2 separate regions of the Homo sapiens genome follow, and region 1 is linked to region 2. The links are contacts of gene promoters, found by promoter capture Hi-C in blood cells and fetal thymus (Javierre and others, 2016). All regions are on one chromosome and are shown on one strand. Each heading gives the region's core, a stretch centred on a gene start or on the middle of the fragment in contact. The rest is flanking DNA. Distances are from core to core; before and after follow the strand shown.

Evidence for each region. The method cuts DNA at HindIII sites, captures the fragments that hold promoters and counts their contacts. A CHiCAGO score of 5 or more calls a contact.
Region 1: a contact is called between a fragment that was not itself captured here and the fragment with the promoter of TPRG1L in region 2, in 1 of 17 cell types (fetal thymus). The highest score is 6.6, in fetal thymus.

The regions. Positions count from the first base shown.
Region 1 is chr1:2,190,631-2,195,032 of GRCh38, forward strand. It overlaps FAAP20 (FA core complex associated protein 20), which reads right to left and starts at 4,142. Exons shown (of 4, transcript NM_182533.4): 1 at 4,058-4,142; 2 at 3,368-3,503; 3 at 3,009-3,280. The coding sequence starts at 4,119. It overlaps LOC112268219 (a long non-coding RNA gene), which reads left to right. Exons shown (of 1, transcript NR_168005.1): 1 at 1-1,828. RefSeq lists silencers at 3,897-3,986, 3,997-4,402. The HindIII fragment of the contact is 2,752 bases long and covers 1,777-4,402 here.
Region 2 is chr1:3,621,717-3,627,181 of GRCh38, forward strand. It overlaps TPRG1L (tumor protein p63 regulated 1 like), which reads left to right and starts at 3,299. Exons shown (of 5, transcript NM_182752.4): 1 at 3,299-3,557; 2 at 3,708-3,799; 3 at 3,997-4,173. The coding sequence starts at 3,357. It also overlaps a transcript of MEGF6 not described here. RefSeq lists enhancers at 2,573-2,692, 3,673-4,335 and a silencer at 3,143-3,372. The HindIII fragment of the contact is 13,719 bases long and covers 1-5,465 here.

The DNA of each region.
Region 1 (4,402 bases), core at 1,903-4,402, 1.4 Mb before region 2:
CTGCCGGGGACGATGTCCCGGGGCTGAGTGGGCGGCTTCAGCCTAGACTTGGGCCTAGATCTTGCTGGAGGCCAAGTGGTCAGTGTCCCATCAGAGTGACCATCCCTCACACGCCACTGCTGGGGGACACACCCCCACTGAGCGGCCAAGTCCACAGGACACGTGTCCCTGTGTCCACCTGTCAGCCACACCGCCCCTCGCTCCCCTACAGCCTCTGCCCTCAGACCAGTCCACGGCGCGCCGTTTTACCCTTGGGCTTTGCTGTGTCCCTTCCTTTGGCTCCTGTGCCCCGTCTGTGTGGCCACTGCAACCCTCAAGTCCCCCTCTCCAGACCATAGCTGGACCCCCACTCCCGGGGCTGGCTCCAGCAGCCATCAGCTGCCTTCTCACTCTGGCAGAGCCCACCCAGTGCCTTCTGAAGCCCCCGAGGGTCACTCAGTCTGAGACTTTCCGGCTTCTGCCCATCCTGGGAACCAGCCCCTCCCTCCAGAAGCTTTCTCTAAGGTTGCCAGAAGGTGCTAAGATCTGAACCGAGGTCATCTTGTCCCGGGGTTTCCAGGCAGCGTCCCTTGTTTGGGGGCCCTCTGAGATGCCTTCAGACCCCCGCCTGTGGCGGAAGAGCTTTGTCCTGGCCTGATCTGCCCTGTCCGTGACGCTTCTGCTCAGTAGCTGAGCACGCCCTGTGGTGTGGACAGGCCAGCCCGGCTGCAGGACAGTGGGGGCTCAGTCCAGAAGCCTCTGGTGGCTTCTGCGTGTGGGCAGGGGAGCAGGGCTGCAGGGTGGGCTGGCACCTGGCAGCGTGAGGGGCCTCAGGGCTGTTAAAATCCCAACGACCGGCCGGGCGCGGTGGCTCACGCCTGTAATCCCAGCACTTTGGGAGGCCGAGACGGGCGGATCACCTGAGATCAGTTCAAGACCAGCCTGACCAACATGGTGAAACCCTGTCTCTACTAAAAATACAAAAATTAGCCAGGTGTGGTGACGCCTGTAATCCCAGCTACTCAGGAGACTGAGGCAGGAGAATCGCTTGAACCCGGGAGGCAGATGTTGCAGTGAGCCGAGATCATGCCACTGCACTCCAGCCTGGGCGACAGAGCGAGACACCGTCTCAAAAAAAAAAAAAAATCCCAGTGACCAACCCAGGGCCTCGCCACATCAACAGAGACAAAACGCAGCTCTGGCTCTCAACATCCTCACCCCTCACCAGGTGCCCAGCTTCCCATCCACCCACGTGACCCGCAGGTGTCTGAAAATGCACAAAATGTCCAAATAGGACCACAAGAAGATCTTAAAGACACAAAGAACATTCTACATAGTTTGTCAAATCCAGCATTTGACGGTCCTCTGGGTGACCCGGAGAACACCAAGGCTGTGAGAAATGGGAGGCCTCCTGGCAGCTCCACTCCCCAGACCCGCCTCTGCCAGGGCTCCAGGCTCAGCAGGCGCCTGTGCGGGACAGGGCGACGGTTCAAGACCAAGTCCGGCTGTTAGACCAGACCCTCCAATCCAGGCGGCCTCCCTGCTGGGGTCCTGTGCGGTCAGGAGTCCCAGGGCATCCCAGGGTGGCTGTGCAAACCCTTGTTCCCAAAGATATGGGGCTTGTCCCCCAGCTAGCCTGCCCATGCGGTGGCCACAGCCTCGGGTGAGTTCCGGTTCCAAAGTACCGGCTCTCCCTTACGATCAAGTGTTCGAATGTGCTTGAAGCATTCCAGACACACCAAGGCCTGGACCTGACTTCATTGACGCCTACTTAGGAAAAATTGAGGCAGTCTGCCAAGCTTTCAGCAACTGCTTAAAAAGCTCAAAATGGCAAGTTTTTCCTCGTGAACGTCCTTGTCTTCAGAAGTCTTTTTTTAGACTATCTGGAAAAGCAGGCGATGCAAAGACAAAAGCCCCTCCCCGGGGGGCGGGGGGCAGCACCCTGACAGCAACAAGGATCTCAGAGCTTCAGCCAAGAGCATGGATTTCTCCCCAGGGCTCCCAACAGTACCCTCTGTCCGTGATTCAGGGTCTTACTCTGTCACCCAGGCTGGAGTGCAGTGGTGCAATCATACTTCACTACAGCCTCCAATTCCTGGCTCAAGGGAATCCTCCCACTTCAGCCTCCAGAGTAGCTAGGACCACAGGCACGCGCCACCACGCCCAGGCATGTAAAGATGGGATCTTGCCATGTTGCCCAGGCTGGTCTCAAACTCCTGGGCTCCAGCAACCCACCTGCCTCAGCCTCTCAAAGGGCTGGGATTACAGGCGTGAGCCACCGTGCCCGGCCTTTTCTTTTGTTGTTGTTGTTGTTGGCTGCCAACTTTGGACTCCGGTGCCTTCGCATTCCCGAGCTGTTTTTGCTTCTGGAAGACCAGGGGCATCAGGCATGACTGAAGGACCTGGTCTCCATAAGCTCTGAAACCTGCCGCCCATTAACTCAACCAAAAGTTACGAACCAGCATCATTCACACCACCCCAGCCCCAGGACCTGCTCCGGAGGCCAAGGGCCCAGAGGTCGCCAGACACAAGGCCAGGCACTGGGCAGTTTGGGTTATCTTGTTAGCAAAACTGGGTTCCATTCCCCTTTACTTAAAAAATACATAAAAATATACGTTGGGTTTCAAAAATAAGAAAAAGCATCTCCAGACAAAAAAGACGATCTTCATTTTTAAAACCCATGACGCACTCTCGGGAAGGTGTTCCTGTGCTCTGGGCCTGGGGACGCTGGTGCCACCAGATTCCAGGATGGCCAGGTGGACCCGGGGCCAGTGCTCCCAGCCTTCCTTCTGTGCTGTTCTGTGGGCCCCCAGCCTGCCCTGCCCACAGAGCACGGCAAGCAGGTGGACCCCAGACCCGTGACAGAGAGCCACCTGGACATGCCAGGCCACAGCACTGGGCCACCTTTCCAGTGTGAAACAGGGCTTTAAAAGCCAGCGCTGAGCTCGGCCACCTCTTGACCTTCTGAACGGCTGTGGTTTCCAAACACGGATGGATAACCGGGCCGGGCGCAGGGGTGGCCTACTCACCTGGGGGCGAACTCCTTCTGGCACATGGGGCAGCTGCGCAGGGCCGCGGCACCCTCCACAGACGGCTGCTGCTCCACCCTGGGGGCCCTGCAGGGATCAGGTGCCGGGCGCTGGGGCAGGGACCTGGCGGGGGATTCCAGGTGCCCTCCTGCCCCGTGAAGCAGCCGGTAGGAACGGCCCGGGCCCCACAGGTCCGGCGGAAAGGGTGTCCAGGAAAAGGTCTTGGGTCCGACAGTGAAGACTTCAGTGGGCTCCGGGCCGCACCTGGGCTCCTGCAACACAGAGTTGTTGGGCCTTGCCCAGCGATGGCTCCCGCCCTGGAAACCCCTTCATCGCTAAGATGGGCCCAGTGGGCACACCTGTCCTGGGAAGGCGGGCAGTGAAGGCACCTCGTGATCCAGGATCAGCTCCGGGCTCACCGTGCGCAGTAGCTCGGCCCAGAGCCGCTCCCGCTCATCACCCCCCAGGAGAAACCAGGGGCGGCCGCCAGAAGGCCTGGGGCAGACAGAGAGGGCAGACAGGGGGTACTCAGTAGCGGAAACGCTATGGTGGGGAGACCCGGGAGGGCCTGGGGCAGAGAGAGCGGGGAGATGGGGGGTACTAGAGGGAAATTCGATGGTGCGGGAGGTGGCCGGCAGGGTTGGGGGAAGGGCTGCTGGGGCAGACAGTGCGGAGATGAGGGGTACTGGGGGTGGGGGAGCGGGGTGGGTGGGTGGAAATATGGGGTCCTCAGCGGGATGAGGCGATGGTTGGGGAGATTGCGGAGGGCCTGGGGAAGGTAGAGGGTTAGATGGGGGGTGCTCAGGGGAGACGCGATGATGGGAGAGGCGCGGGAGGGCCTGGGGCGGCGCGGGGGAAGCTCGGCGTGGGGTGGGGGCTCAAGGCGGGCGCTGAATGGCGGCGCGGGGTGGGGCGACGGGCGTGGGGGCCGGGCCCGGGGGCAGGGAGCCCTCCCCAGGGGGAGAATAGAGCGGGAGGCCCGCGGGGGCGCCGGGAAGCACGTGGGAGCGGGAAAACCGGCCGCGCCCCCGCCCGGCTCCCGGCCTCACCCGCCCGCCGGGCGCGGCCTCCGGCGGCTCAACCCCAGCCGCGGCCTCCGCGCCGCCTCCATCCAAGCCCGCGCCGGGCGGAAGTGAGCGCAAGCCCCGCCCCCGCCCCTCCAGGCCCCGCCCCCGCCCCGGCCCCGCCTCCAGACCTCTGCAGCGAGGCCGCCCCCCTCCGAGACAGTCGGAACCCCAGGGGCCCTGATCCCAGCCTGTAGGGAAACTGAGGCCAGGGTTCCTTCGTCCTGCACCGCACAGGGGGGCCTGGCGTGAGGGTGGGGGGCCCAGGTGGGGGAGCCCCGCCCGTGTCCCCTTTCCCGTCCGGGCAGCCCCCGGGCCGGAGCCCCCTCC
Region 2 (5,465 bases), core at 2,049-4,548:
TTGCACCCTGCACCTGGAAAAGCCGTAGGCACTCAGGGGCAGAGCTTCCCAAGGCCTTGGAAGCCCACCCCTTGCATCAGTGTGGCCCTGGATGTGAGACATGCAGTCAAAGGAGATTATTTTGGAGCTGTAAGATATAATGACTAACCCACTAGATTTTGGACTTGCATGGGGCTTTTAGCCCCTTTGTTTTGGCCAAATTCTCCCTTTTGGAATGGGACCATTTACCGAGTGCCAGTACCTCCATTATACCTTGGAAGTAACTAACTTGTTTTTGATTTTACAGGTTCATAGGCAGAAGGGACTTTGTCTCAGATGAGACTTTGGACTGTGGACTTTTGAGTTAATGCTGAAATAAGACTTTGGGGGACTGTTGGGAGGGCATGATTGGTTTTGAAATGTAAAAAGGACATGAGATTTAGGAGGGGCCGGGGTAGAATGATATGGTTTAGCTGTGTCCCCACCCAAATCTCATCTCGAATTGTAATCCCCACATGTCGAGGGAGGGACCTGGTGGGAGGTGATTGGAGCATGGGGGCGATTTCCCCCGTGCTGTTCTTGTCATAGTTCTCACAAGATCTGATGGTTTAAGTGTGGCACATCCCACTACCCCCGCCGCCATGTAAGACGTGCCTTGCTTCCCCTTTGCCTTCCGCCATGATTGTAAGTTTCCTAAGGTCTCCCCAGTCATGTGTAACTGTGAGTCAATGAAACCTCTTTTCTTTATAAATTACCCAGCTTCAGGTAAGTTCTTCATATTAATAGCAGTGGGAAAACAAACAAACACAGTGACCTTATTTGATCAAACATGATGATGATCGACTAAAGATGAGGTCACTAGGGTGGTCCCTAATCCAACAGGGATGTTGCAGAAGAGACCCACCTGGAGAAGGTCGTGTGAAGATGGAGGCAGGGATGGGAGCAGTGCATGAGCAAGCCCAGGACACCAAGCAGGCCTGGCAGAGCAAGACATGCGTCAACCCTCAGGGCTGCAGAGGGAGCATGGCCCTGCACACTCCTTGATTTTGCACTTCTGGCCTCCAGGGCTATGAGGAAACACGTTTCTGTTGTTTTTAAAACAGTTGTTGTTTTTAAAACCAGTTTGTGATGCATTGTGACAGAAGCCCCAGGAAACTCATCCATACTGAGTGAAATTTGTTTATTGTCTAAAATACAGTCCCTCCATCATCTATCCCTCCTATCATTTCTGGAATTTATAGACATCCAAGTCACTCCCCATATCCACAGAAGGCTCAGGCACCTGGTTCAGAATCCTCATTGTCCTGCCAGCTCCCACCAGCAGTCTGCAGCCTCGGCCCCAGCCAGTGTCACTTCATCCCATTCCCTGGACATCTGGTTCCAGGACCACAGCTCCATCCTTGGCGTGGTCCAGAACTTGCTCCTACCTCTCTCCCCCATTCTCCCTCTTTCTCCCCCCCATTCTCTCTCCCTCTCTTTCTCATTCTCCCTTCTCCTCCCTCTTTCTCCCTCCCTCTCTCTGGAATCTCTGGTTCCAGTTGCCCATCACTGACTACAGCTTGCAGCTGTCCAGGTATTTCTCATCTACATCCACTCAGCTCCCTCCCGGCCTCTGTTCTTCCTCCCTCAGGGGTATTCTCCCACTCACCAGCACCTGTTGGATCCGCGGCCATTTCTAACCGGACTGGATACTTGGACCTCAAGGTCCCCGCTGGTAAGATAGCTGGGAGACACTCGTCTGTAGGTCCCTCTGGCAGGTCTTGCTGGGCGTGCCAAGAACACATTGCCCTGACCACTCTTTTCTGGGCCATTTCTCACGCCTGTGCTTGCAGTGGGCACCCTTGCCGGGGAGACAGCCTCCCTGTGGGACAAAGACCACATTGGTCCACAGGATCCAGGGTCCTGTTTTGTAGTGCACCCGCTGTGGTGCAACATGCGTCTGGGCACACCAGCGTCGCCCGTTTCCTGTTGTAGTCTTTCCTCTCTGACTCCAGGGGTATTGGGTCTTTCTGCCAGCGCCCATGCAACTTTGGCAGCCTGGCCTGTCTGCTGGCAAGTGGGGCAGAATCCCTGCACTCCACCATTCTTGGGCAACACTCCCTCTAGGATTTTGGCCTCCCTTTTCTCTCTGGTCTTTGACCACCGCTACCCAGCAAACTCCTCCATCTAGACCAGCCAGCATTGGTTTCTTCCACTCCCCCAGCTGCCGCGTGGGAGGCGCCACTGCAAACTTCCCTGGGGTCTCCCAGCTGCTCAGAGATCCCCATGCCCTTCCCTGATCAGCTCCCTGCCCGGTTCTCATCCCGGCGATTCTAAACCGTCCATCTTTACAAATACTCCGCTCCATCCCCACTCCCTGACTGAAGTAAACAGATGTATCCTGAACTCCTCATTCTCCCCCCATCTCACTCTCCTCGCCTGTGTGCACCTCGCCTCGTGTGTCTTCCTCACCTCCGAGCAGAGGGATCTGTCCTCCTGCCCGAAGGTAACCCTGACCCCTGGACTCTGCGCCTCCTTCCCGCAGCCTCCACCAGATTGCGGGTCCGTTCACCGCCCCCCTCCACACGCGCTGGGGGCACCTCCGGGAGCTGGGGCTAGCGCAGGGCACACACATGTTCCACCTCGAACTGCGAGCGCTGACCGGGATCTCTGGGCAGCCCTCTCTGTGTGCACTGGCTTGCTGAAGGCTCGCGACAGCCTGGGCCCGGGCGCGCATTCCAGCACTTTCTACCCTCCGGCTTCAGAGTGCATTGCTCTGTGGATCCGTCACGAATAAGCCGTGTGTGAAGAACGCCAGGTCCCGGCAGAAGATCGCTGCCCGGCGTGCGAACTCCCCCACGGTGCACCAGGGCCGCCGCCCTGCATCCTCCAACCTCAGCTCCCCGGCACCGCGACCCTCCGTGCAGTGCGAGCCCCCGATGGGCGCGCGCCCCCACCTGCGCTCCAGAAGGCCGAAGGGGGCATCCCACTTGCAGGGCGGGTCACCCGCTTTCCCCGCGGGCCAAGGGGCTCCAAGATTCCCAGCCCCTCCTTCCCAGCCGCTCCGCGACACCCTGGCAACCGGCTTCGGCCCCGCCCCTTCTCGTTGTGTAAACAGGAAGTGAGCCTGCGCGTGACGGTCGCTTCCGGCCCGGCGAGGGGCGGGAGCGATTGTGAACGGCGGCGGGGCAGAGCCAATCGCGGAAAACGGCAGGAGGAGAGCCAATCCCGAGGGTCGGCGGACGCGGGAAGGGGCGGAGCCAGAGGCGGGGCCGGCAAGGCGGAGCCAATCGCGGCGGTCCGCGGGGCGGGGCCGGGGGCGCGGCCGGGTGGTGGCGGTGGCTGCGGCGACGGCGGTCGCGTCGGCGTCAGGGTCGGGGTCGGTAAGGGGTGCGGCAATGCTGCAACTGCGGGACTCGGTGGACTCGGCCGGTACGAGCCCCACGGCGGTGCTGGCGGCCGGCGAGGAGGTGGGGGCAGGCGGCGGCCCGGGCGGGGGGCGGCCGGGGGCGGGGACGCCGCTGCGCCAGACACTCTGGCCTCTCAGCATCCACGACCCCACGCGCCGCGCCCGCGTCAAGGAGTACTTCGTGTTCCGGGTGAGGCAGGGGCCAGGGCCGGGGCGGGGGCCGAGGGCGCGGGGCGGGATGGGGGCGGGTGGGGTCGGAGGCGGGCGCCGGGCGGTCCCGCAGGGAGCGAGCTGTGACCTGTGATCTTTGCCCCCGTCCCCCACCCCGCAACCCGCCCAGCCCGGCAGCATCGAGCAGGCAGTGGAGGAGATCCGCGTGGTGGTGCGGCCCGTGGAGGACGGCGAGATCCAGGGAGTGTGGCTGCTTACCGAGTAAGCCGGGGCTGCGCTCTCCTTGGTGGGGGGACTCGCCCCGAGCCGCCGCGCAGCACCTTGCGAGGACTTCCCGGGGTGCTCGTGCCACGCTCAGGCGCCCCGTGCCGCCCCTGCTGCCCTTCCAGGCGGGCTGGCCTTGGCTAAGTCGAGACAGCCGCGTCCAGTGTGGACTGAGGCCCCTCCTCTGCCTACAGGGTGGATCACTGGAACAATGAGAAGGAGCGGCTGGTGCTGGTCACGGAGCAGTCCCTGCTTATCTGTAAATACGACTTCATCAGTCTCCAGTGCCAGCAGGTGGTGCGGATAGCGCTCAACGCAGTAGACACCATTTCCTACGGAGAATTCCAGTTTCCCCCTAAATCGCTCAACAAGTAAGCCTGTTCAGAGTCCAGTATCACTGGACCTAAGCACCAGAGTGGACCTTACAATTCAGCCCTTTTAAATCAGCCCCCCAAGCGGTGTGTCTTCTCTGTCATTAATTATAAGCACAAAGGCTCCAGCTCCAAATATCAATGGGAAGTTCCTTAAAAAGAAGCGACTTCTGGGCAATTGAGTGCATTAAAAGGAATTCTGGCACAGAAGGCAGCTATTAGGCTGGTAGTAAAAAGACTTACATGAGTTCAGGATGCATTGAAGTAGAGCCCAGCGTGTTAAAAAGGAACTTGGATGTTCTTCAGGAAAAGTCCAAACTCTGCATTTTTCTCCAGCCAGGGACAGATTGCATATGACACATCAAGTCTTGCTCTGGCTAATTTTTTAAAGAGAAATGGAGGGTCCCGTTGTAATTTATAGATACCACTAAAAGACAAATTTGGAAATATTTAATGACCAGCTTTCAGGAGTTGATCTTTTTGCTGTAGGATAATTTTCTGACGTGAGGAACCTAAACATTACTACAGTCAGTTAAGCTGTAGAACTTGGGTTTTTGATGGAGAGATTTGGATGGGGGATTCAGGAAGCTAAAATAAAAATTTTACCTTTTGGTTAAAACATTTAATATGACATAAGGAAAAGGAAGATTACACTTCCTTTTCACTCATTTGGCTAGCCTATCTATAATTATTCCCTTTTTTTTTTTTTTTTGAGACGGAGTCCCACTCTGTCACCCAGGCACCAGTGGTGCAGTCTTGGTTCACTGCATCCTCCACCTCCTAGGCTTAAGTGATCCTCTCACCTCAGCCTCCCAAGTAGCTAGGACTACAGGTGCCCGCCACCACACCCAGCTAATTTTTGTATTTTTTGTAGAGATGGGGTTTTGCTAGGTTGCCCAGGCTGTTCTCAAACTCCTGGGCTCAAGAGATCCGCCCATTTTGGCCTCCCAAAGCGCTGGGATTATAGATGTCAGCCACCGTGCCCAGCCAGTATTCCTGTTTATTAATTTTTAATCATGTAAAGATTACCAAAATAATACATTTAATAACCAAAATATACCTAATTTGTCATATTTATACCCACAGTATTTAAAGCAATTGTTAGTGGAGATTGAAGTTACTACTAAAAACCACAGGCCGGCCAGGCACGGTGGCTCACGCCTGTAATCCCAGCACCTTGGGAGGCTGAGGCGGGCGGATCACCTGAGGTCAGGAGTTTGAGACCAGCCTGACCAAAATGGATAAACCCTGTCTCTACTAAAAATACAAAATTAGCTGGGTGTGGTGGTGCA